Linked DNA regions of Homo sapiens: all the other regions are linked to region 2. Evidence: promoter capture Hi-C in 16 types of primary human blood cells and fetal thymus (Javierre and others, 2016). All regions are on one chromosome and are shown on one strand. The core of a region is centred on a gene start or on the middle of the fragment in contact, and the rest is flanking DNA. Distances in the headings are between cores, read along the strand shown. Region 1 overlaps LOC107986292 (a long non-coding RNA gene). Region 2 holds the start of SDAD1 (SDA1 domain containing 1). Region 3 has its middle 4.5 kb from the start of MRPL1. Region 4 overlaps SEPTIN11 (septin 11). Region 5 overlaps CCNI (cyclin I). Region 6 overlaps CCNG2 (cyclin G2). Region 7 has its middle 6.3 kb from the start of CCNI.

Region 1 (2,700 bases), core at 84-2,583, 1.2 Mb after region 2:
AGAGCTAGTAGGTAGTAGAGTTGGGAATTAAACCCAGGTTTTTCTGTCTACCTGTAAAGTCTGTGTTCTTGACCACTATTTACCCAGTCTTCCATAGTAGGTGTTTTAAATTTTTGAGAAAGTTTTTTGTCTTTTTTTTTTTTTTTATTTTAATGGAGTCTCGCTCGCTCTGTTGCCCAGGCTGGAGTGCAATGGCATGATCTCAGTTCACTGCTTGAACCTCCTGGGTTCAAGCAATTCTCCTGCCTCAGCCTCCCAAGTAGCTGGGACTACAGGCGCCTGCCACCATGACCGGCTAATTTTTTTTGTATTTTTAGTAGAGACGGGGTTTCACCATGTTGCCTATGGCTGGTCTCCAACTCCTGGCCTCAAGTGATCCACTCCCCTTGGCCTCCCAAGGTGTTGGCATTACAGGCGTGAGCCACCGCACCCGGCCGAAAGGTTTTTTTAAACAGTTCTTCTCCAGCATGTTTGGCAATTTTGTTGATTCTATCTGGCTACCCTAAAGGAAGAGTATCTATCTCCTTTCTCCTGACTACAAGTATGTGAACACTCAAGATGAAAGAAGGGGACTAGCATCAGTAAATTCCCGGAAAGCACTGGTGACAGTCGCAGGAATAAACTAGGTCAATTTGTGTCTCATTGTCCATTGACCTATTGCCTTAGACTTGGTTAGATCTCAGTGTGATTCCAGCTGGCCTCTCAGCTTCTCTTCTTTTCATCCTCACATCTATCCTCCAATGGGATTCATGTAGCTAAACTTGCAGCTTTTCAAAAACTTTTGCTCTAAATACCTCTAATAATGGATAAGTGCCTCTGGAAACTCTGGGGAAGGTAGAGTTTAAAGCAGTCTGTGATAAGCATAAGATTTCTTTGAAGGCTCATGTTTTCTTAAGATTTCATGCAAATTTTACAATGTATTTCCTTTTTTTAAATTTTAAATCAATGTTTTATCTAGGAATGATTTTAGATTTACATAAAAATTGAGGGATAGTAAAGTGAATAACATATTCTCTTCACCTAGTTTCCCCTAATGTTAACATCTAATGTAACCACAGTACATTTGTCAAAACGAAAAGATTAACATTCGTATATTGCTAAGAACTCCAAACTTATTTGGATTTCACCAGTTTTTTTTTTTCACTAATATAGATTTTTTTGTTGTTGTTGTTCCAGAATCCCATCCAGGGTATGACATTGAACTTACTCATCACGTCTCTATAGTGTCTTCTGGTATGTAATACTTTCTCAGTCTTTCTTTATTTCCATAACCTTGATTAACTGTTTTGAAGATTACTGGTCAGCATTTTGTAGAATGGCTGTCAGTTTGACTTTGATGTTTTTCTTATGATTATGTTAGGGGTATGGGGTTTGAAGAAGCATACCATGGGAGCGAAGTGCTCTTCTCATCATATCAGGGGGTACATAATAGCAACATGGTTTATCTTTGATCATATTAATCTGGATCACTTGGTTAAGATAGTGCCTGCGAGGTTTCTTTTTTTGAGATGGAGTCTTGCTCTATCGCCCAGGCTGGACTGCAGTGGCGCGATCGTGGCTAACTGCAAGCTCCGCCTCCCGGGTTCACGCCTTTCTCTTGCCTCAGCCTCCCGAGTAGCTGGGACTACAGGGGCCCGCCACCATGCCCGGCTAATTTTTTGTATTTTTAGTAGAGACGGGGTTTCACCGTGTTGACCAGGATGATCTCAATCTCCTGACCTCGTGATCCGCCCACGTAGGCCTCCTAAAGTGCTGGGATTACAGGCGTGAGCCACCGCGCCCGGCTGAGGTTTCTGTACTATACAGTTATTACTTTTCCCTTCGTCTACTCTGTTCTTTGGAAGGGATTCTCTAAAACTTGCTCAGACTCAAGGAACGGGTGTGGTGATTAAACTCCACCTCCTGGAGTGGGGAGTTACATATATTATTTGAACTTTTTCTGCAAGAAAGATTTATCTCTTTTCCCATTCATTTATTTATATTGGTTTGGATTACTATTGTCTTAATATAAAATAAATCTTTTTATCCCCAAATGTACAAGTGGAATGACTTTCCAGAAACATGTGAGTCCTGAGGATACTCATACTTTCTAGCCCGCCGTTTGCGAAGCACAGACAAAACCCAAAGCCTCACTGGGTTACTTCCTTGCTTCCATTGAGTCATCCTCCTCAATAATACTTGTGAATGAACGAATAAATGCATAACACGCACAGGTGAGCGATGAGAAATACCAGCGTTGTCTGACGGTAAGGATATTTGTGTTCAACACCAGTGTCTGACCAAATAGCTACTCATATTTCTTCTGAAATTCTTTAGGGCACACTAAACATCTTCCATGTTGTCTAAGTGCTGGAAGGGAAATTGATTCAGCCACTTTTTGAAGGTGACTCTAAATTATTCTCTCAAAATACTCAACAGCCTTTACAATGTAGTTAAAAAAAAAAAGCGGGTGGAGGGGAGAAATGCCTGTCTAAAGTAGGAAGCCCCAAGAGAAAGCCCTGGGGCGTCCAGAGGCTTGGTTTCACCTGGCAGCCGTCTGGGACCAATTGCGGAGTTGAAGTAGCTCCTACGCTTTCTCATTGGTCCTCACCCAGGGGGAAGGCGTGGCTTCAAGTGTAAAAGGCGAGGAAGCCTGGCGGGGCTGTGGGTTGTTCCGCTGGTGGATGGTTTGGGGTTGGTCGGGCGGGGTTTCTTCCAAAG
Region 2 (2,700 bases), core at 118-2,617:
ATAGGCTCAGCGATTAACCTGCTTCGGTTACACAACTGGTTAACAACAGTCAGCAGCAGGAGTTATCTAACGGAATTATATAGACTCTCAACTTACCACTTTCTTTGCGAATGGCTATACAATGCTTTAAGCATCTCAAAGCCTTGCCTATGTTACTTAACTTCTTGTACTTGTTTCCTACTCTTTATTTCCACTACCTTGATCCTTGGAGAGGCTTTCTCTACTGGTGACCTAAGCCACTGAGATTGCCATGTGTTAAAAAGCACTCATAAAATACATATATGTGAAAATTTAGGGGAGGAGGGAAGTGAGAAGGGCAATGAAAAAATAAGTAATTGTGTTAGCCACTGAACAAATCACAATCTGGTAGAAGCACAAACATGTAATTGCAGCAAATGCCTAGCAGAGATACCTGTTTAATGCCCGTCTGATAAATGAGTGTCTGAAGGAAGCACCTGTCAGATTAATATATCAAAAACCACTTTCGTTTTGTCGGTACTTGGTTCAAACACCCCTAATGTTCACAACTTACATGAGGTCAGTACACAAAGCCCATCACAATGAGGGCCTAATTTTTCAACCTAATCTTTTCCCGAAGCAAATTCTGACATCCGAGTCATGCCAGTCTCCGGTAAGTTTGAATCCTGGCTTAACTAAATATACTAAGCTCCCGAGTCTGTCCGTTGTGCTTGAGAAACCCCCCCCCCCCCTTTCCTGGCACAGTCCAGGGTACACAGCCTGCTCTCAGAAACGGACGTCAATCGAAAGCATTCTAACATACGATTCATCAAAGGTTACCGACTAATTCAAGTTTGGGATTTCTGAAAAGAGGCTGAGAAATCCGCGTGGAAGTTGGTGGTTGGGTGCGGCCCATTTCTCTCTCCACTTCCGTGCGGACGAAGAAAAATATCTTAAAACAAAATGAGGTTTTAAAGGTGTTTCAGCGGCAGCAGGGCAGGTAGAAAATCCAAAGGGGCAACAGATTTTCAAGAGGTGGGGAACGAACCCTAAGGCATGTCCCGTCCCCAACCCCTTCTCTCCTCTGGAGGGACCCCTGAACCTAACAGAAGAATAGGCGGCGAGCCTGGATCCCAGCCCCACTCCATGCTTTCCCGCACCGGCGTCTCAACCATCCACTATCCGGCCTCTAGCGTCTGCCGCGCCGCACTCCCACCTCCTCGATGTAGGCCGGCGGGTCTCGCTTGATTAGATTCTGTAACTGCGGCAGGTTGCTGGGAAGCTTGTTGTTGTTTCTGTTGGACATTTTGGCTGCAGACAGACTTCGCGGCGAGCAGTTTTAAAAAAACTCAGACGGCCGGCACCCCGCAATCCCTGCCAGCTGCAGCTTGGACTCGTGTTTCCGGGTATGACCGGAAATAGCGCATGGGACTCTAGGCAGGCGACACCTTAGCGGTTCCTAAAGCGAGCTATGCTACGGAAGCCTCAGAGTGTCAAAATTACTCTCGTTGCCAAAATACTCTGTGGTGTATTGGAGAGCCAGCCACCGCCGACCCGCCCCTCGCCCTTGGGCATATGCTACTACTTAATATTGCCTTGCGTTTCTGAAAGGATCTGAAATGTAAATTTTTTCACGTGTGTTAGCATGTATCGTCATTCCGACACCCATATGAAGCACATAAATGAGGATTAATCGTTTATTTTTAATCCCGCAGTCTAAAATTAGAAACTGACGCCTGTAATCCCAGCACTTTGGGAGGCCAAGGCGGGCCTGAGGTCGGGAGTTCGAGACCGGCCTGATCCACATGGAGAAACCCCGTCTCTACTAAAATTACAAAATTAGTCGAGCGTGGTGGCGCATGCCTGTAATCCCAGCTACTAGGGAGGCTGAGGCAGGAGAATCGCTTGAACACAGGAGGCGGAGATTGCGGTAAGCCGAGATTGCACCATTTCACTCCAGCCTGGGCAACAAGAGCGAAACTCCGTATAAAAAACAAAACAAAACAAAACAAAACTGAAAAGAACCGTGGCGCTAGATAACACTATTCCCTCTTAGGAGGAAAAAAGAGCAACGAGGGTCATATAAGTTAATGTGTATGATTTTAGATATGTTTTTATTTTGGTTTTGGTTGTTTCAACTTAGCGTGACCCATACAAGGGAAAAGAGGGCTGGATAAAATGTGATCATGTTGACCATTAATAAATGCAATTAATCGTTAAAATTCAACCATCGTTATAAGCTTTGTAAGCACTCCTCAGTCAGAGTTTTTAATTCAGATCCTGGTAATTCGAAGAGGAGAATACATTTCTACAATCTCAAGGTGTAAAAAATCAATAAGGGTTGAATGAATGAGGTAGGGTGTTGTGAATTAGAGAGAGAGAAAAAAAAACCTAATTACCCACCCTGTGCCAGGCACTATTCCAAGCACTTGTATTAACTTATTTAATCCTCAGAACAACCCTCTAAAATAGGTGCTATTGTTATCTACATTTTACAGAAGAGGAAACAAGCTCAGGGAAGTTGACTGCCTCAATTCATAGCCTGTGAGGAAGATGAGATTTCAATCTAGACAGTCTTGATTGTAACTACATGAGAAAAAACATAGCCTAACAGCTGGTAGCTGGTTGCTGGTCTGGCAAAATAGCCAGACAATAGGGTTCTGCTTAACCAAAGCAATTTTATAGAACGCCAACCTCATCTGTGACGATGATAAAATGAGCCCCAAACAAAACAACTCTGTA
Region 3 (2,700 bases), core at 12-2,511, 1.9 Mb after region 2:
CTCGTCATTTCTGTTCCCTAATAGTTTCAGATTGCCTTTCAAGGCCGTTCTAGCATGGAATTTATTCTATGACCCTGGAGCTTGAATTTTCCCACCTGAGTGTTTCAGTCTTTCATTTTCCCAACTTTGGTTTTGTGAGAGGAATAATTGATCTAGTTTTTCTTTTCAAGGCAGGTCACTGGCCATGTATGGGTGGGCTTTCCTTGGGTCAGATGGCTTCCACTGATCCAAATATCCTGGGCTGGGGAATTTTATTTATGTGAGAGGAGGCAGTTTCTACCAGAAGCAGATGTGGGTGGGGCAGGAAGCTAATGGTATTTTTAGTATCTCTATTGAAAGACGCTGAAAGATGGAGGCAATGGAGTTTACTCCCAGAAATTTGTGAATCTACTTAAACTTATTCTATTCCCTGTATTAGAAGGAGCCTATTTAAAAGGTTCTGGTTTGGGATTAATGATAGGTATGTGAGTTTTGCTCTCAAATATGCTCTAGGACCTTGCTACTCAAAGGGTGGTCTGCGAACCAGCAGCATCAACATCACTGTTAGGAGCCTGTTAGAAATCAGAGGCCGGGCGTGGTGGCTCATGCCTGTAATCCCAGCACTTTGGGAGGCCGAGGCGGGTGGATTGCCTGAGGTCAGGAGTTCGAGACCAGCCTGGCCAACATTGTGAAACCCCATCTCTACTAACAATACAAAAATTAGCCGGGCGTAGTGGCAGGCGCCTGTAATCCCAGCTCCTTGGGCGGCTGAGGCAGGAGAATCACTTGAACCCGGGAGGTGGAGGTTACAGTGAGCCAAGATCACGCCACTGCACTCCAGCCTGGGGGACAAGAGAGAGACTTCGTCTCAAAAAAAGAAAAAAAAGAAATCAGAATCTCAAGCCCCATCCTAGGCCTACCAAATCAGAATCTACATTTTAATAAGATTTCCAGGTGATTTGAATTCACATTAAAGTTTAATTATGGCTCTAGGATGAATTGGTTTGGTTTAGGCCTCCTAAAAATTACTGAAGACTTGCACTTGAAATCTTCTAGTAGTATGTTGTAGCTATGCAAGAACCAATTGATAAATTGTCAGAAATTTTGAGTTGGTTGATTTTATGTTTGGTGGCTTGAAGTCACCTACTTGTGGGAGTATTTACACCATGGAAATTGACAAATGGTACAAATTCATTTCTTTTATACTGGAGAACCAGTTGTTAAACTTTTACCAACACACCACTGGACAGTTCTAAATCTCCTAAATCAATCTACTATTAAACAAATCTCCTGGGGGCTTTTGGACATAAAAACTGTCACGTGTGGGGGACAAGACAAAATGAGTTCCAGTCTGCCACTTACTGAACTTTCAGCCTTGTGACTAAAAAAACATTTTCCTAGATAGACATTTCTTCATGGGAAAAAAAGATCTGATTCCGAAGTAAGCACAAGGGGGAAAGGGAATCTAGGAGTTGGTAATACTTAAGACCCAGATAGGCAGACAGACAGGCATTGGAAATTTTCTCAGCTGGCAGGTGGACAGTTTGGAGTTGAAACCCAGGCATAGAATAGCAGTTTGTATGTAGAGAGGAAGAAAATAAGACTGGGTAGATTCTGGTTCTGGAGACATATCCCATGAGGAACGTTTATAGTCTATATTATATTGACCATAAAAATTTTAAACAAAACAACAGCTCCTCCCCAAGTTAACATTGGGTATAAATGCAAATATTTCATGGTATTACATAGGGAGTAGTTTTGAAAGTACGGTCACTGGGCCAGTAAATCAGTATCTCCTGAGAATTTATTATACTCACAGGCCCCATCTCAGACCTACTGGATCAGAAGCTCTGGGGGTGGGGCCCAGCAACCTGAGTTTAACAAGCCTTCTGAGTGATTCTGATGCACATTACTGAAATAGGAAATGTCTTGGAGTTCCTTATTTTTGTCTAATAAGAGAATCCATTTTCTTTTTTCTTTTTATTTTGAGATGGAGTTTCACTCTTGTTGCCCAGGCTGGAGTGCAATGGCGCGATCTTGGCTCACGGCAACCTCTGCCCCCTGGGTTCAAGCGATTCTCCTGCCTCAGCCTCCCATGTAGCTGGGATTACAGTCATGCACCACCACGCCTGGCTAATTTTGTATTTTTTTAGTAGAGACAGGGTTTCTCCATGTCGGTCAGGCTAGTCCCGAACTCCTGACGTCAGGTGATCCACCCGCCTCGGCCTACCAAATGCTGGGATTACAGGCGTGAGCCACCACGCCCGGCCGAGAATCCATTTTCAACTTGAACCCCAAAGGGAAGTGACACTTCTTGCAAAGAAGTTTCCAACTCAACTGGAAGATGGCTGAAGAAGGCAGAGAACACAGATCAAGTAAGTTACAGGGCTAGACAAATATTTATTAGCTTTTCCCAGGGAAATTAGCCAAGCAGGCTGGCAGCTGGCATTTTGCCAAGACTCCTGGAAAGTATAAATCTTCCTAGAAATCAAAAGTTGCATTTTAAAGTGAATTTTAAGTCCATAATACAGTCTAAAGACCTTCTGCAAATACATATAAAAGTTCTAATATAAAGAAAGTGACATCCTTATACATGTGGGAATAACAACAGCATGGATCATGTTAAGAAATAAGCAGATATTGGAAGAAGGAGTACTAGAACAGCTTATTCATTTTGCCTTTCTGGTTCAGAGCTCTCACTGGTTCTTTAATAATGACACT
Region 4 (2,700 bases), core at 125-2,624, 1.0 Mb after region 2:
GTGAGCTGAGATCGTGCCACTACACTCCAACCTGGCGACAGAGTGAGACTCCATCTCAAAAAATAAATAATAAAAATAAAAATAATAAATAATAAAAATAAAAATGGAGCTTTGAGGATCATTTTCTCACCTGGACTCCAGTATTTTGAATATAAAGTTCATTGACAACACAGCCAGAACACTAGGAGTCCTGTCTCCAAGGAGAAGACTTTCAGTGTCTAATTTCTGAAATTGCAAACCATAACCATGATATTATAACTGAGGGACTGTAGCTGATCTCTGCATCTTGAGAAAAAAAGGTTTCACAGATTATCTCCAACACCCACGGGATGCATTCAAAGTTGTGGGGGCAGCCAGTACCATTTTATATAACAGCATAAATCACCCAGTGATTTTACTTTAGCTTCCAGCCATATCCTATGTGATTTTAAAATGTATGATAACTACCTTACCCTAGTCTACATCGGTAAACTCTGCAAAACTCCAGCAGTTACAGAGCCTGTGCTAGGAGCTACAGGGTGAAGAGGGGGAAGAAGACTCAAGAAACCTGTAAAACTAATGGAGGAGAGGAAACCAGCTCATGTGCTGAGAAGTTTTAAATATGCTGCATTTATGGTAGGTAGAGCATTGTCATCATTGTAAGGAGTATGAATCCTCCACTGTGAGCTTTTCAAAGTTCTTTTATGTATCTGGAAGAGTGTTAAATATTTTTTCACTATGAGTTGACAGTAAATTGAAAGCTTTTCTTGAATAATGAAAGTGATCAAAATGACTGGAGGTTTTTGTGTTTTTTTGGTCACTTAATGCATATCTGAAATAGTCACCTCTAGAAGCTCAAATTTCCCTGGACCAGTACACTTGTAACAAGGAATGAGATGCTCAGGGAGATGGTCTGCTTTGGGAGACTGTGACTTTTGTGGAAAGAGCTTGGCTTTGGAGTTGTTAGTGCCCTCAGCTGTGTAGAAGCCAAGGCAGCTGTGGAGGGTCTCCTTTTTCCATGTATGTCAAGGGAAGAAGAAGAAAGAATGTAATGTTTGTGATATGTGATATCCAGGTGGCATGGTTCATGGACACTCAAATCTTTCTCCCCTGAAATTGCAGAATGAAGAGCTTCGAAACTTGTCTTTGTCTGGCCATGTGGGATTTGACAGCCTCCCTGACCAGCTGGTCAACAAGTCTACTTCTCAAGGATTCTGTTTCAACATCCTTTGTGTTGGTAAGTTATTCATCACCCCACAGCAAGAAATTTGATCCTTAGATATTGACAGGTAACTGTCGGAGAGACATGCTTCAGTGAAATAAGAATGACATGTTTATTCTCTTTCTTTCATCAGTAAAACAAGGCAAAATATCTGCCTTATACATGTCACAAGTTATAAAGATTGAGAGCTGTATTTAGGTAAATGCGTTGTATGTTTTGTCATGTTACTCAAATTACTATTAGTATTTCTGTCACACAGTTAAGCAACTGATCATTACAATATTGTTAAGATCCCTTAAACATTTTACTTTGGACTAGGCCTCTGCCTTGGTATTTTTCTTCACCCCTCTAGCCATATCTTTTTTTTTTTTTTTTTGAGGAGTCTTGCCCTGTTGCCCAGGCTGGAGTGCAGTGGGGCGATCTTGGCTCACTGCAACCTCTGCCTCCCAGGTTCAAGCAATTCTCCTGCCTCAGCCTCCTGAGTAGCTGGGATTACAGTAGCCACCATGCCCAGCTAATTTTTTGTATGCCATATCCTTTTTGGACTAAGAAGAGGAAGGTGGAAAGGAAGGGGGATAAAGAAAATCAAAATATAAATTTCCTGTTAGTTTGAAGGAGAAGTGTGTGTGGAACAGATGGCTGTTCCTCTCTCTCCCCATCACGCCTGATGAATGGCAGGTGAAACAGCAGTGAAGTGGTTTGGGCTGTGTTGATCTGTTGGCATTGTCCTCTGGGCATTTCCCTCTGAGACATCACTTTGAGACAGATCAAAGAATTCTGTATGTAGCCAAGTGGACTGTCTTTTCCCTAAGCTTGGCAGAATGTGTCAGACTTACTTTTCTTGTCCAAGTAAAGCAAAGAGAATTTAGAAAAGGTGTGTGTTCAATGTGAGAACCACCATTTGCTTATTTGTCAGTTATGGAAGTTGGGGGGAGTGCAGATATTTTTCTTTTTTAAAAACTTCTTGAACTTCTTGATGACTCTACTGCATGTAGCCTCTGTGCTGGGCATTCATTAGTAGAAAGCCACAATTGGCAGGCACGCTACACCAACTTGCTCCCTGGCATTGTATCTTAAGCACTGGATAAGAGAAAGACTGGAGAGAACACAGCCAACTCTCATCTCATGCTTTCCCCTTTTCCCTACGTGAAGCCTTTTAAAATTCAGCAGGAGACCTCCCGAATGGCAGCTAGTTCTACAGAGTGGCGTGAATGGGTTGTCCTTTCTCTCATGATAAATGCTCATTGCAGAGCAGGGCAATTCTTCATTAGCATAGCAATTTGTTGGCAATTTGTTGGGTTTCTATTGAAAAGTATGCTAAATTGTAATCGCAGGCCAATTACTATTCTGGCTTCTCTTCAGTGCCTCCCCAGCCCTGTCTCCAAAATCAGCTCTAAGAACATGTCTGAGAGTTCTGTCCTGGCTCCTGCAGGGGACGGTAGGGGAAAGCCTTCTGGTGGGATCCTGGTTTAACTGGGTATGTGGTGTGCAGTGGGGTG
Region 5 (2,700 bases), core at 173-2,672, 1.1 Mb after region 2:
GGAGAGGTAGGTGATGTTATAATCTGATGAAACTGGGAAGGCTTTTAGGGAGATGAAAGGAACGATGACTTACAGTAGCTATGAAAACAAGAACACCATTAACTCTAACCTTCAGTTAGAGATACAATGTGGGGTATGGGAGAAAAAAAAAAATCCCTGAATGACAGATTACATTAAATAATGTCACTATTTGGTGTTTGGCATTAAACAATAACAGAAACATACAATTGTAAGAAGAATCACAAAGGTAACATACAAAAAAAGAGAATACAGTTATATGGAGATTATCATATAGTTATAACTAAATGACATAACTAATGTAAAGCATATATATGGAATGCAAACGTACTCAAATATTAGTTCTCCTTTCCCACCTCTAAACTACCCAATTCTCTAATAATGTCAGAAAAACAAATTTACAAAACATTATCTATGAAGTTATTTTAAACACTGTTAACAATTAGTCATGAAAGAAATCATGACAATATCTTTGAACTTTAATATTCCATATACTTTTTGAGACAGGGTCTTGCTCTGTCACCCAGGCTGGAGTACAGTGGCACAACCATGGCACACTGCAGCCTCGACCTCCCAGCCCCAAGTGATCCTCCCACCTCAGCATCCTGAAGTAGCTAGGACCAGAGGTACGTGCCACCAGGCCCGGCTAATTTTTTTTTTTTTTTTGAGATGGAGTCTCGCTCTGTCACCCAGGCTGGAGTGCAGTGGTTCAATCTCAGTTCACTGCAGCCTCCGCCTCCTAGGTTCAAGCAATTCTCCCTGCCTCAGCCTCCCAAGTAGCTGGGATTACAGGCTTGTGCCATCACGCCTGGCTAATTTTTGTATTTTTAGTAGAGATGGGGTTTCGCCATGTTGGCCAGGCTGGTCTCAAATCCCTGACCTCAAGTGATCTACCCATCTCAGCCTCCCAAAGTGCTGGGATTACAGACGTGAGCCACTGCGCCCGGCCTAATTTTACTTTTTTGTAGAGACGAGGTCTCACTATGTTACCCAGGCTGGTCTTCAACTCCCAGGCTCAAGTAATCCTCCCACCTCGGCCTCCCAAAGTGTTGGGATTACAGGTGTAAGCCACTATGTTTGGCCCATATACCAGATAGTAAAATTTAACAACAGGGCCAAGAAAAGCATTCCTGCATAGCCAATGTTATCATCACTAGCCAAAACCAGCAATAATTTTTTTAAAATCCAAAAGATAACAGTTTAAGAAGACTCAATTTAACTGAAGTAATACTGAGTCTAAGGTCACTTTTTCAAATCAATTCAAATATGTACTAAACAGTAATATCATCATGACAGCATTACAAATAGTAAGTTCTGCGCCTAATTCATTTCATTCCTATTCCTCTAAAATAAAGAATGAGAGAGAAAAAGAAAAAGCCCAAAACAGTATTTCCTGATTCCATCAGGTGAACTGTTTCTCATATGGACTGCTTAAATAGGATTAGAAGGATTCAGTAGTTGAACAAATAATCCTAAAGAGAATTTATAATGGATTGATCAAACATGGTAAAATATAGACTGCTATTAATATATATTCTGTATATATATTATATTCCACATGCTGCTAGTCTTCTCCTTAAAATATACAACCTCCCCAGCTTTAAACTCTAAAAGGTTCACCATTACCTAAAAGATTAAGTACAATTCCCCAGCATGGCATACAAATCTATGACCTACCTCTTCTTTGTTGTTGTTGTTTTTGTTTTTTGTTTTTGAGACAGTCTTGCTCTGTCACCCAGGCTGGAGTGCAGTGGCGCAATCTTGGCTAACTGCAAGCTCCGCCTCCCAGGTTCACACCATTCTCCTGCCTCAGCCTCCTGGGTAGCTGGGACTACAGGCACCCGCCACCACACCCAGCTAATTTTTTGTATTTTTAGTAGAGACGGGGTTTCACCATGTTAGCCAGGATAGTCTCGATCTCCTGACCTTGTGATCCACCCGCCTCGGCCTCCCAAAGTGTTGAGATTACAGGTGCAAGCCACCATGCCCGGCTATGACCTACCTCTCTAACCTCGGACATCTTCCATCACTTTCTGTCTTAAACTTCATGCTGTAATAGTAACTTCTACTGATGATCCTTCCTTGCCCCTGGTATTTTACGTTACTGCTCCTTTGTTCATATTGCTCCTACTGACTGGAACGCACTCCCTTCTCTCTCACCTGCCTTATTATGTATCTCTTGAGAGCTATTTTGATGTTACTCCCCGCCAGATACTTTTCCTGATAATTCAAGTTGGGCTGAGTACCTTCCTATGTTCCCACAGCATCTCATTACACCTGTTAAACGTTCAACATTTTTTTAAAAATTAAATTTCTGGGCATGGCTCACAATTGTAATCCCAGTACTGTAGGGGGCCAAGGCAGGAAAACTGCTTGAGCCCAGGAGTTTGAAACTAGCCTGGGTAACACAGTGAGACTTCATCTCCACAAATAAAAAAATTAGGCATGGTGGTGCGTGCCTGTTACCTCAGCTACTTGGGAGGCTGAGGTGGGAGGATCACTTGAGCCTGGGAAATAGAGGCTGTAGTGAACTGTGATGGAGCCACTGCACCCCAGCCTGGGCAACAGAGCAAGACCCTGTCTCAGAAAAAAAAAAAAAATTAAATTTTTCCTTTTGGCTTTGATGAAGTAGGAAGCAGCAAATCTAAACTCCAGTTGAGAATGACTAGAAAAGCTGTTAAC
Region 6 (2,700 bases), core at 196-2,695, 1.2 Mb after region 2:
TTGGTCAGGCTGGTCTCGAACTCCTGACCTTAGGTGATCCACCTGCTTCTGCCTTCCAAAGTGGTGGGATTACAGGCGTGAGACACCGCGTCTGGCCCTGGCAAATATTTAAAATCATTTAAAATCATTTAAATCTTTGGAAGTTTAATAAATCTTTGTTCTTTGCATTGTATAGGAAAGAAATACTGAGCCTTGATAAACTAGAAGCTCAGCTGAAAGCTTGCAACTGCCGACTCATCTTTTCAAAAGCAAAAGTAAGTCGATTCCTTGCTTATGTATATATCTCACAGTTTGTATTTTGAATTTTTAAAAAATATTTTTCTTTTTTTTCTTTTTTCTTACAGCCATCTGTATTAGCCTTGTGCCTTCTCAATTTGGAAGTGGAAACTTTGAAATCTGTTGAATTACTGGAAATTCTCTTGCTAGTTAAAAAACATTCCAAGGTAATTACAGTCATTATTCTTTAAGGCAAATTTTTTTCCTGATGTTTATTTTTTTCTGTGGTGACTTAAACATTAAGTAATACTTTATGGGACTCTTAACTTTTACACTTGTTTTTTTTCTTATATCTCTAGTGTTAAAGTTCTCAAAATGCAGCTTTGACCCAGACAGTATTAATCCGGAAGGGAACCTGGTCACTTAGCTCAGCTTCTTTCTGCATATAGGTGCCCCTTCTGTAGTAATCATGCCATATGATAGTACAGCTGTTACATTGCCACATATGCATTGTTCTGAAATGCATACTAGGTAGTAGACTCAGAACAAACACTAATGGGATAGGATGGGATCCCATCACACCTGTAGGACTGAACTGTCATCCCATTAGCAGCAGCATCAATTAACACCAGCAATGTTGATGTTTTAAACCCGAATGTCTTTTCAAATCCTTTAGGCCAGCTAAGTAAAAGTAAGTCTTACCATCACAAAGAGATATAAAACAAAAGCACAATACTTTTTCTTAAACTCTCAGTCTAGTTGGGGAAATGAGGAACTTAACATGAAGTGGTGTGTTCTGTCATTTGTTATTGTGTCTTGGTGCCAGGTAATAGTGAATATAGAGAGTACTTTGGGATTTTTTTTTTTTTTTTTTTTTTTTTTGAGACAGTCTTGCTCTGTTGCCCAAGCTAGAGTGCAGTGGCATGATCTTGGCTCACCGCAACCTCAGCCTCTCGGGTTCAAGTGATTCTCCTGCGTCAACCTCCCGAGTAGCTGGGGCTACAGGTGCTCACCACCATGCCAGGCTAATTTTTATATTTTTGGTAGAGATGGGGTTTCGCCATGTTGGCCAGGCCGGTCTTGAACTCCTGACTTCAAGTGATCCCACCTGCCTTGGCCTCCCAAAGTGCTGGGATTACAGGCGTGAGCCACTGTGCCCGGCTTACTTTGGGTTTTTTTTAAGCAAAGAAATAGGGCAGACTAGGAGAAACACTATGACTGGGAGCCTGTTTGGAGCAAAAGAATCTTTGACAGTGAAAGTTTCAGCGAAGGCTTAACGGCCAAGAAATTGGTGGACTAGACAGATATAAAAGTCATTTTAGGGTAGACTTACAGGTACAATGTCTAGGTGGTAGTCACAAGCAGGAGTAAGGCTGTCCAACTCAAACAGTGGTTTTGGAAGCCAAGCATGGAAATGAGGCAAGGAGTCTTGAATGACCAAGATTTGTACCTAATGGTGGATATAATATTAGCATAATTGGCAGGAAATTTGGGAGAAGTTAATTTGTGATGAGAGCAATATGATTTTAGATGCTTGTGTACACAGGTGGGTGTCTAGTAGGTGTTTGGCGTTTTGGAATAAGAAGATAAACTATAGTTAGAGATTGAGGTTTGGAATTTCTCATGAAGAAGCAGTAGTTGAAACGGTAAGAAGCTGTGGAATCCTTTTTGTAGGGGTCAGTTGAAGCTCTGGGGTTTTCAGCGTTGGCCTTTCCCCCCAACATTAGGAGCCAAGTGAAGAAAGGTACATCCCCACAAGTAGAAGCACTGTCAGACTGGAAGGAGGTTTTTAAGGAGGTGGTCAGGAGTATTGAATTTTTATAAGAGATCCAATATAATGAAAATTGAAGGTCATTGGGTGTGTCAGAGGTAATGTCAGTAGAGCAGTGAGAAGGAAGTGGTAGAAACCAGATTACAAGTGGGTTAGGATGTAGCTACATTAGGTGAAAATGGGAAGCCAAGAAAATAGATCTTCTGTTTTCTGGTGAAAATATGTGCATGTGAAGCATTTTGTTTGTAACAGATAACTTTTTGCTTTAGTTATGATTTTATTAGTTTTTATCTGAACTTTTTATTGATAGTGATAGCTGGAACCATCTTCAGTGAAAATTGATTCGTTGAAATAAACTGAAGGCATTCCGAAGGAGGAGGGAAAAAAATACGTAAAAAGAAAAACAAAAAAGAAATAAACTGGAGCACTGCCCAGTGGTGGCGGAACTATGTCCTTTTTGGGAAATTCCTGTTCTCTCATATCACTAACTTCTTTAGTTTTGTATCTGGTGTTATAAGTGTGTATTACCAGCAATCCAAACAATGCCTTGTTGCAGGAACCCAAATTGGTTTCTGTAACAAAAGGAATGTTAAATTCCTTTGCATTGAGACTAAGGACTATACTTGATAGCTGATTTATTAACAGACCCAGAGTGTTTTTAGGTCAGTGTTTTCTTAGAATAGGCAAAGCTTTCTGTGTATTGAATCCTATGT
Region 7 (2,700 bases), core at 84-2,583, 1.1 Mb after region 2:
CGTTTGAACCTGGGAGGCGGAGGTTGCAATGAGCTGAGATAGCGCCACTGCACTCCAGCATTGGCGACAGAGTGACATCCTGTGTCAAAAAAAAAAAAAAGGAAGTATAAAGACTGTTCTGTAATGCAAAATAGTGTAAAGTGAGACCTCTTCAGAAGTCTAGGAAAATGGAAGGGAATCAAATTGATGGCCAGGAAGTGGTTCGCTATCATTAAATATTTCTAGAAATACTGCCTACATTTTTAGGAGTAAAGAAAGCAAGGCTGTTTCATGTTTAATGACAGAAGCTTCTATTCTCCTTTGTCCTAAATGAAATTTTTAGATAATGTTTCCACAAGACAATTTATGAAGGTACTATCTTGTAGGAGAGATGTTAAAGCCTACAAGAACAAAGGAAATTATTTACTGTCATAATCACTTAGCATCTGCCCACACTTTAGGATTCTTTTAACAACTTCTAAAATATTTTTCATTTATCTATACAGAGATAGAATGTAAGAGGAGTAAATGTCCCAAACCAACTTGGCATCAAGATATTAAGAGAAAAAAAAGTCCCCATTCACCAAATAATATAAAGACCTCCTCCTTAATATTAAGTGGGGAAAGTGCTCAGAGGGAATAAGTCAAGGAAGCCTCAAGCTGCCTTTTTTTTTTTTTTTAAGAGACAAGTGAACATTTATTTTTGTGCCTTTCTTCCTATGTGTATTTCAAGTCTTTTTCAAAACAAGGCCCCAGGAATCTCCAGATTCAATTGTGTCCCTGGGCTTGGTCGACTGCTGCAGGAGTCTTAGGGAACCTTGTACAAATGCTAGAGTTACTCATTTACCAACATTAAACCTTAGGATAGAAGATGCAACAAAAGCAGGACTCCTTCTTCCATGGAATATGCTGATTTCAGATGAGGCGACAGCCAATGTAGAAAACGCTGAAATTTTTCCTTGGAACTGGACTGTGATGAGAGGTGCTTGCCATGAACCTAAGCTACTGTCTTTTGTTTTCTTTTTTTTTTTTTTTTTTGAGACAGAGTTTCACTCTTGTTGCCCAGGCTGGAGTGCAATGGCGTGATCTCAGCTCACCACAACCTCTGCCTCCCGGGTTCAAGCGATTCTCTTGCCTCAGCCTCCCGAGTAGCTGGGATTACAGGCATGTGCCACCATGCCCAGCTAATTTTTGTATTTTTAGTAGGGACAGGGTTTCTCCATGTTGGTCAGGCTGGTCTCGAACTCCCGACCTCAGGTGATCCTCCCACCTCAGCCTCCCAAAGTGCTGGGATTACAGGCGTGAACCACTGTTCCGGCCAGCTACTGTCTCTGACCCTTCCTTTCCAGTGTTTGAAGATAAGGCAGGAAATAATCTTCTCTGAAGATACTTGATAAAAATTTCCAAAAAAGCAAAAACACATGCTTCCACTTCATTGACAAAAATTTACTGCCATTTGGCACCTGGGTCTGGTTCAGCTGGCGGATGAGCTGATTGATGCATTCACCCTGATAGCCAGCTGTGCCCATCTCCTTGAGGAAGCCCACTCTATTTTTGGTAGCATGACGGGCCACTGAGTGGTGGAAAGGGCACAAGAACCATGAGCTCTCCTGGAAATGCTTCCCTGGGAAGGCAGTTTCATGAATGAGGTCTTCCAAGCAAATGACACCAAACTTCCCCAGGTGCTCCTCAATCACTGTGTTTTCTGTCAGAGAGATGGTCTTATTCTTGACCTTGGCTTGTCCACGTTTCAAAATTCAAAATTCCTGGACAGACTTCAGATTTGGAAATCCCTAGGTCACATAAGGTTCCACTATACGCAGCATTTTTAGGTTCTTGGGGGTGGCTTTTACAAAGACACCATTAAAAATTTTCTTTAGGCGAAGTCTTGCAATGGTTCTCTGCCCCAGTAAACTCACACCATCAATCCTTTTGATGCACACAACAAAGGCCAAGGAATGTTCATCTGGCAATTCCAAGGCATGAGGTTTCACTTCTAGTTGTCTGAGAAGCAGCTTGTCATGTTTCTGCCACCAGGAATCATGTTGGAATGATTCCAGTCGCTTAAACCTGAGCTCTTTTCCTTTGCTCCTTCTTTGCCAAAAGTGCCTGCTTTGCCTGGGTGGCTTTGAGGGCTTGATAAGCCTTCACCTTTTTCAGGAGATTTTCTGGAACCAAAGGGATTTTTCTTTGCCCTTGATCCACCGTCTTTCTAGTGTAGCAGCTACTGATCTGGCACAACCCCACCACATGGGGAAGACAGCACTCACTCTGTTTACTTGACCATAGAGACATCAGTTCTAGCTCACGCTGGAGGACCCAGAGAGCCAGCCTGCACTTAGCAGCATTGAGACACTGAGGTCCTGCTAACCCTGATTCCTGCCAAAAGTTGCAGTGCTTCCAAGCTTTTTAGAGCCTGTGTCATTTACAAAACCCAGCCCTTTTCTTGTAGGTTAGTTTCATCACACTGGCGGTTTGGCTTTGGACAATAAAGTGCTTCCCACAACGCACCTACAGCTTCCGCTCTAGTGATGGCGCCGCACTTCCCGCGCGGCTCTGCTGCAGCCTCAAGCTGCTTTCTAAACTTGGGCCAACACTCAATATAAACTAGCTTTAGGTTTCTCATATTTAAGGAGTGATTTAGGAAAGTCTCACCAGAAGGGATCATTGGTTTCATGCTTCATTAAGAGGAGCCACGGAGATCAAACAGCAACCACCTAT

The links. The method cuts DNA at HindIII sites, captures the fragments that hold promoters and counts their contacts. A CHiCAGO score of 5 or more calls a contact.
Region 1: a fragment that was not itself captured here is called in contact with the fragment with the promoter of SDAD1 in region 2 in 1 of 17 cell types (fetal thymus); the score reaches 6.2 in fetal thymus.
Region 3: a contact is called between a fragment that was not itself captured here and the fragment with the promoter of SDAD1 in region 2, in 1 of 17 cell types (monocytes). The highest score is 7.7, in monocytes.
Region 4: a contact is called between a fragment that was not itself captured here and the fragment with the promoter of SDAD1 in region 2, in 1 of 17 cell types (fetal thymus). The highest score is 5.3, in fetal thymus.
Region 5: a fragment that was not itself captured here is called in contact with the fragment with the promoter of SDAD1 in region 2 in 1 of 17 cell types (non-activated CD4 T cells); the score reaches 5.5 in non-activated CD4 T cells.
Region 6: a fragment that was not itself captured here is called in contact with the fragment with the promoter of SDAD1 in region 2 in 1 of 17 cell types (total CD8 T cells); the score reaches 5.9 in total CD8 T cells.
Region 7: a fragment that was not itself captured here is called in contact with the fragment with the promoter of SDAD1 in region 2 in 4 of 17 cell types (total CD8 T cells, activated CD4 T cells, fetal thymus and 1 more); the score reaches 8.1 in total CD8 T cells.

The regions. Positions count from the first base shown.
Region 1 is chr4:77,191,035-77,193,734 of GRCh38, forward strand. LOC107986292 (a long non-coding RNA gene) reads left to right here. Exons shown (of 4, transcript XR_001741742.1): 4 at 1,177-1,539. Among named protein-coding and RNA genes, the nearest start is that of CCNG2, 35 kb to the left of the region's middle. The HindIII fragment of the contact is 2,729 bases long and covers 1-2,698 here.
Region 2 is chr4:75,989,578-75,992,277 of GRCh38, forward strand. SDAD1 (SDA1 domain containing 1) reads right to left here and starts at 1,368. Exons shown (of 22, transcript NM_018115.4): 1 at 1,175-1,368. The coding sequence starts at 1,264. The region is part of intron 1 of SDAD1-AS1 (SDAD1 antisense RNA 1); the gene reads left to right. The HindIII fragment of the contact is 958 bases long and covers 1,239-2,196 here.
Region 3 is chr4:77,857,024-77,859,723 of GRCh38, forward strand. No RefSeq gene overlaps it. Among named protein-coding and RNA genes, the nearest start is that of MRPL1, 4.5 kb to the right of the region's middle. The HindIII fragment of the contact is 3,300 bases long and covers 1-2,700 here.
Region 4 is chr4:76,995,324-76,998,023 of GRCh38, forward strand. It overlaps SEPTIN11 (septin 11), which reads left to right. Exons shown (of 10, transcript NM_018243.4): 2 at 1,102-1,216. Among named protein-coding and RNA genes, the nearest start is that of SEPTIN11, 47 kb to the left of the region's middle. The HindIII fragment of the contact is 1,273 bases long and covers 739-2,011 here.
Region 5 is chr4:77,059,958-77,062,657 of GRCh38, forward strand. All of the region lies in intron 2 of CCNI (cyclin I), which reads right to left. Among named protein-coding and RNA genes, the nearest start is that of CCNI, 15 kb to the right of the region's middle. The HindIII fragment of the contact is 3,762 bases long and covers 1-2,700 here.
Region 6 is chr4:77,161,305-77,164,004 of GRCh38, forward strand. It overlaps CCNG2 (cyclin G2), which reads left to right. Exons shown (of 8, transcript NM_004354.3): 5 at 176-254; 6 at 345-443. Among named protein-coding and RNA genes, the nearest start is that of CCNG2, 5.4 kb to the left of the region's middle. The HindIII fragment of the contact is 2,457 bases long and covers 218-2,674 here.
Region 7 is chr4:77,080,948-77,083,647 of GRCh38, forward strand. It overlaps the pseudogene RPL7P17. Among named protein-coding and RNA genes, the nearest start is that of CCNI, 6.3 kb to the left of the region's middle. The HindIII fragment of the contact is 2,097 bases long and covers 286-2,382 here.